Linked DNA regions of Homo sapiens: region 1 is linked to region 2. Evidence: promoter capture Hi-C in human tissues and cell types (Jung and others, 2019). All regions are on one chromosome and are shown on one strand. Each heading gives the region's core, a stretch centred on a gene start or on the middle of the fragment in contact. The rest is flanking DNA. Distances are from core to core; before and after follow the strand shown.

What was found. The method cuts DNA at HindIII sites, captures the fragments that hold promoters and counts their contacts. A contact is called where the count stands out against the background at its distance.
Region 1: a fragment that was not itself captured here is called in contact with the fragment with the promoter of RYBP in region 2 in 1 of the 25 tissues and cell types used here (spleen).

The regions. Positions count from the first base shown.
Region 1 is chr3:71,090,038-71,092,737 of GRCh38, reverse strand. The region is part of intron 7 of FOXP1 (forkhead box P1); the gene reads left to right. Among named protein-coding and RNA genes, the nearest start is that of FOXP1-AS1, 200 kb to the left of the region's middle. The HindIII fragment of the contact is 4,370 bases long and covers 1-2,700 here.
Region 2 is chr3:72,445,334-72,448,033 of GRCh38, reverse strand. It overlaps RYBP (RING1 and YY1 binding protein), which reads left to right and starts at 1,411. Exons shown (of 4, transcript NM_012234.7): 1 at 1,411-1,538. The coding sequence starts at 1,411. RefSeq lists silencers at 565-974, 1,035-1,094. The HindIII fragment of the contact is 22,535 bases long and covers 1-2,700 here.

The DNA.
Region 1 (2,700 bases), core at 107-2,606, 1.4 Mb after region 2:
GAAAAACTCCCAAGACCTGGAAGTTTGAAGGAAAATAAGCCAAACGCCCTCCCTCACATTTGAAAACTGACAATTATTTTTATTTGTGCAGGCTTAAGATGGAAATAAGAACTTCTAAAAGAATTTGAAAAATACCCTACTTACCAAAAAAGCTTAAATCATTTCCTCTGAAAGTTTCCTTCCATCTAAGGTTTGCTTCGGTTCCACAGACCAGCCTCCTCCTGTCCTCAATCTGAGGGGGAGGAACGTGACCTTCAGTTTCCGCTGATACTGATTTTAGGGTCCCACAAGGGTCTCTGTACTTGCCCTCCCTCTTAGAGACACAGACTGGCACATCCTGGTTTTCTTTTTTTTCTTTTTTTGAGATGGAGCCTCCTTCTGTCACCCAGGCTGGAGTGCAGTGATGCCATCTTGCTCACTGCAACCTCCTCCCTAACTCACCAGGTTCAAGCGATTCTCCTGCCTCAGCCTCCCGAGTAGCTGGGATTACAGGCGTGCACCACCATGCCCAGCTAATTTTGTTTTTTTTTGTTTTTTGTTTTTTTTCTGAGACAGAGTCTCTCACTCTGTCGCCCAGGCTGGAGTGCAGTGGTGCGATCTCAGCTCACTACAACCTCCACCTCCTGGGTTCAAGCGATTCTTCTGCCTCAGCCTCCCAAGTAGCTGGGACTACAGGCGTGTGCCACCATGCCCGGCTAATTTTTGTATTTTTAGTAGAGACGGGGTTTCACCATGTTGGCCAGGCTGGTCTCAAACTCCTGACCTCAAGTGATCTGCCTGCCTCGGCCTCCCAAAGTGCTGGAATTACAGGCGTGAGTCATGGCACTCAGCCTACATCGTGATTTTCCTGTTGGCTTTTGTAAAAGCCAGATCCTTGAACTTTGTTTCTTATTTCCAAATGTTGATTACAGTTGTGTTTCTCATACCTCTCTCCCAGCTGTGAAGTTTATTGGTCTTTGTTTTATTAATAATTCTATAATTGAGAATTATATTTTATTTTAGACTCATAATGTCATAGCATTACATTCATTGGTTGAATATGTTAACTGGTTAGGAAAAAGCTTGGGGTTACCCTTAATCTTGAGCTTGAGATATTGATGAGACAATTAAGCTTAATTTGGTAACTCTTTGGAGTAGATAGACCCAAATTCTAAAAACCATCATTTACCATCTCTGGGACCTTGTCCAAGTAAAGCTCAGTTTTTTTTTTGTTTGTTTGTTTTGTTTTGTTTTGTTTTGTTTTGTTTTGAGACGGAGTCTTGCTCTGTCACCCAGGCTGGCATGCAGTGGTGCGATCTCGGCTCACTACAACCTCCGCCTCCCGGGTTCAAGCACTTCTGCCTCAGCCTCCCAAGTAGCTGGGATTACTGGCATGTGCCACCATGCCCAGCTCATTTTATTTGTATTTTTAGTAGAGACGGGGTTTCTTCATGTTGGTCAGGCTGGTCTCGAACTCCTGACCTCAGGTGATCCACCCACCTTGGCCTCCCAAAGTGCTGGGGTTACAGACGTGAGCCACCGTGCCTGGGCTAAAGCTCACTTTTGAGCTTCTATAAAGTAGAAATGTCTACCCAGCAGATTAATTCAGAGGATTAATTTAAGAATACACACACACACACACACACACACACACACACACAGAATCTGGCACCTGTAGCTCAAAATGTTACCTGCCCTTCTTATAGCTGTTGTTCTGATCATTATATTATGATGATGTTGGTTTGGGTTATTACTTGTGAGATCCTACAGTGGTCTGGACACACAAAAAATTGAATTTTATATAATACTGAGGCTTTCTGATGGTAGTAGATGGGCAGAGAGTGGCAGTTGTCAACCCCCTATGCATTTCAGAGCGAAGTGCATTTAGAATGGCCATACCTATGTTATCATATACCTATGTTATCGTCTCTGAATCTTTGATATATGCCAGATGGGTTGCAAATTCTACAGTGAATTGTTCACTTCTGTAGGTCTTCTGTGCAGGACCCTAGCTCTCCTGTAATGGCAGTGCAACTGCTGAGAAGAAAAGACAGAGTGCAATGATCATGCTTCCCCACTCTGACCCCCTCCTAGTTCTTCCCTGCACTCTTAAGGAGGCAGTTGCACAGTTATTTTTTATTTGACATTATAGTTACATATATGCAAAGAAGATCAGGGAGTATGCTCATTTTATTGTGTCTTGATGTGTTGGGAAGGGAAGCATGGATTATAAAATTATCTTTTCATCAAGCCTTCTAGTTAGAGTTGACTTGCTTCTCCTGGGGACTGAGTAATTTGTTACTCTTCATTGCCCTGTTACTTTTTCCCCCCAAGGGTGGTTCTCCTCACACCTGCAGGAGACTTGTTCTTTCACTTCTGTATTATCACATTACATACTGCACTTATGAAAAACGGGGCAAATGTTTTCTAACAGCCATCGTGACAACTCTGTTACAAACAGGGAGGTACTGTTTAGTTGAAAAACATGGGAATATCCAAGAAAAATGTGAAAGAAGCTTAGAAAATGAAATTTCTTGAAAATAGGAATCGAGAGATTTGTTTTATGATGGGAGCAAGGTTGAAGAAAGTAAGGAATTGATTCCCCATTAGAGATTGCAAACTGATGGCCCGCAGGCTAGATACTGTTTTGTTTATGCACACAACATTTAACCTTTTTTTGGTTCGAACTTTTTGAAGGCTTTCTTTTTCTTTGCAAAGATT
Region 2 (2,700 bases), core at 162-2,661:
AGGCCCAGTTATAATAGCTCCTAATACCCAATATCTTGTTTTGGTCCTTCGTGAATACCAGGCATCCATCAGCGAACCTTCCATGCCTGATTTCTCCGAATATTCAAAACAACCCTGGGAGGATGAGCCCCATTTTGGAGATGAAGGAGCTGAGGCACGAGGTTTTAATGCGGGCATGTGGTCGCCAGAATTTGAATAGCAACTTCCCTAAGGAAACGCCCTATTTAGACTCTAGGGGAGAGGAGGATCCCAGGAGGAGTCCGCCAGCAGAAGCTCAGAGTCTGGCCTGGGGGCATTTAGTTATGCCACGCCCTTTCTCTACTGTTCCCTCCCGCGACAGGGGCCTGACAGGGAGTGGGGCTTCGGGCCAGCGTCTCGGCCGGACGCAGGGACTTCAGAAGAGGCAAATACAAAGCTCCGCATGGCAGAGGAACAGAGGGGCGCGGGGGAACGCGGTCCAAAGGTGGACCTTGTCGGCCCCTGGGCACTGCAAGCCTCGAGGCGCTGCGAGCGGTGAGGCTGTTGCAAGCTCCCGCGGCGCGCGCAAACTGCGTGGAACTACTTCCCCGGGGCGGCTTCGGGGCCGGGGTCCCGGCAACAGCCTCACGGGGCGCCGTGCGGGGCCCGAAGCCAGTTGCCAGCTCCCGGGCGCGGCCACGTGCGCCCCGCCGGGCTTGCACGCTCCGCCGCGCCGGGCCGCGGGGCCACCGACAGGCACGCGCGCCCCCAGCGCGCACACACTCCCGGGCACGCACACCGACCGCCCGGCCCACGTCCGCCACGCCCCGCCTTCCCCCGCGCCCCGCCTCCGCCCTCGCGGCGCCGGCCGCCGCCCTCCCATTGGCCGCACGGCGCGTGACGCGCGGCGCCAGGCCCCGCCCCTCGTCAGTCACTCGGCGGAGGCGGCGCTGGCGGGGACTAGTCTCGTCCGGAGACTGTGATGGATTTAACCAGGTGGGGAGGGAGGGAGGGCGCGAGCTTGGGAGTGGAGAGGGAAGGAGCCGGCCCACTCCCCGTCGCCGGCCTCGGGCTGCCCCTGCGCGCCCCCTCCAGATCCGGCCCGCGGCTCCCCTCCCGGCCCCCCCAGCCCCACGCTCAAGTCCACAAGTCCGCCCGCTTCCTGCGCCCGCCGCGGCCCTTCCCGGGGCGCCGCCGCCACCGCCTGGTGTGCGAGGCTATCCGGCCCGGGCCCGGGGCTTGCAGGGTGCCAGTGGGGGCGCCCGGTTCCCTTCCTCGCTCTCTCTTCCAGTCCCCGGAAAGGGTGGGTGGGTGGTCTCCCGAGCGAAGTTTCCAGCACTGGATTCCTGCGAAATTACGACGGCTCACCCGCGTCTGTGTTTTGCTGTCTCTCCCCCGTTTTCCTGCTCCCTGCCTCTTCCCTCCCTTTTCCCCCACTCTCCACTCCTCGGAAGGCCAAAAAGACAAGCGAAACCTGCCGCAGACGAAGGGTTTTGGGATTGTAGCGTCTGCACCTTCAGAAACAGTGCTGAAGCCTTTAAATGCAGCATCTGCGATGTGAGGAAAGGCACCTCCACCAGGTACTTGAAGATCTGTGTTACCTTTTGTTAAAGGACTTTTTTTTTTTTTTTTTAAGTGAGAGGGTAGTGAGCCTTACTTTCTGCCCTTTTTCCAACTTGTTGATTACGGCTTTTTTTGTATTTGCGGGTGGGTTGTGTGTGTTTTTGGGTTGAGTGTATTAAGTGTTGGGTGAAAAGCCTTGTGTTCGCTAAATGATTTATGGGAGGGAATTTTTCCAGGTTTTCATTTTATTTCAAACGGACACTGGATTTATTTGACACTTGTGTCTATTGGCTTATTGGTATTGGCTGGGGAAGAGAGGAAGCAGTACTATCGCTATGGATTGTAGGACATAGATGTTTTATATTTTTGCCATGTGTAGAATGGTTTTAATTTGCCTGTCCCGAGTTACTTTTCTCTTGTCTGAGAAATTTAGTGGGGGTAGTAAGGCTGGCTGTGCTTTTCCTGTCTTGAGCTGCAAATGTCTGTTACTTTCTTGCACTTGAAAATAAATGTCGGTATTTGATAAAGTAAGTGCATTTTGTGGGAGACTGAGCTGTCAGTTTTTTTTTTCTTTGACTAGCTTATGTGGGGTGGTGATGGGGGACGATTTTGTAAAATGGTGAAATGAGCAGTGACTGTGGAAGTTTGTGTTTAAAGCTCTGTGATGATGAAAAGAATGTTGAAAGAATTCCTTTTCATTTTGATGAAGGTCGTAAACTGCATGTGATGTTAAAACGAGTTAACTACTTTAGATTTAACATTCATAAATACTTGGATAAAATGTCAAGACTCATGTAGTCTTTTGGTCATCTTTTAATTTATGTCTGAATTTGTTTCATTGGCGTTAGAGTTTGAAGTTAAACTGTTCTTGGTGTCATTTAATGAACAGGCATTGGGTGTGTGTGTGAGACAAGAATGAGTTTTTGGTGGATCCTTTAGAACATTACAGTTGATTGCCAAAAGTCTCATTTTATCAGGTACTTATTTTTGAATTGGTGACATTTCAGTGTGACTGTGTAGTAGTACTTCACAGTTCCAACTGGATATTGTTCTTTGATTAGATGAATATGTCATGTTAAGGTTTCATTGGTTTATTTATACTTGGGATTAAATAGGATTATTGGGCAACCTAAAATAATCTAACTCTGAGATTAATTGGCCTAATTATTGTTTCTGTGA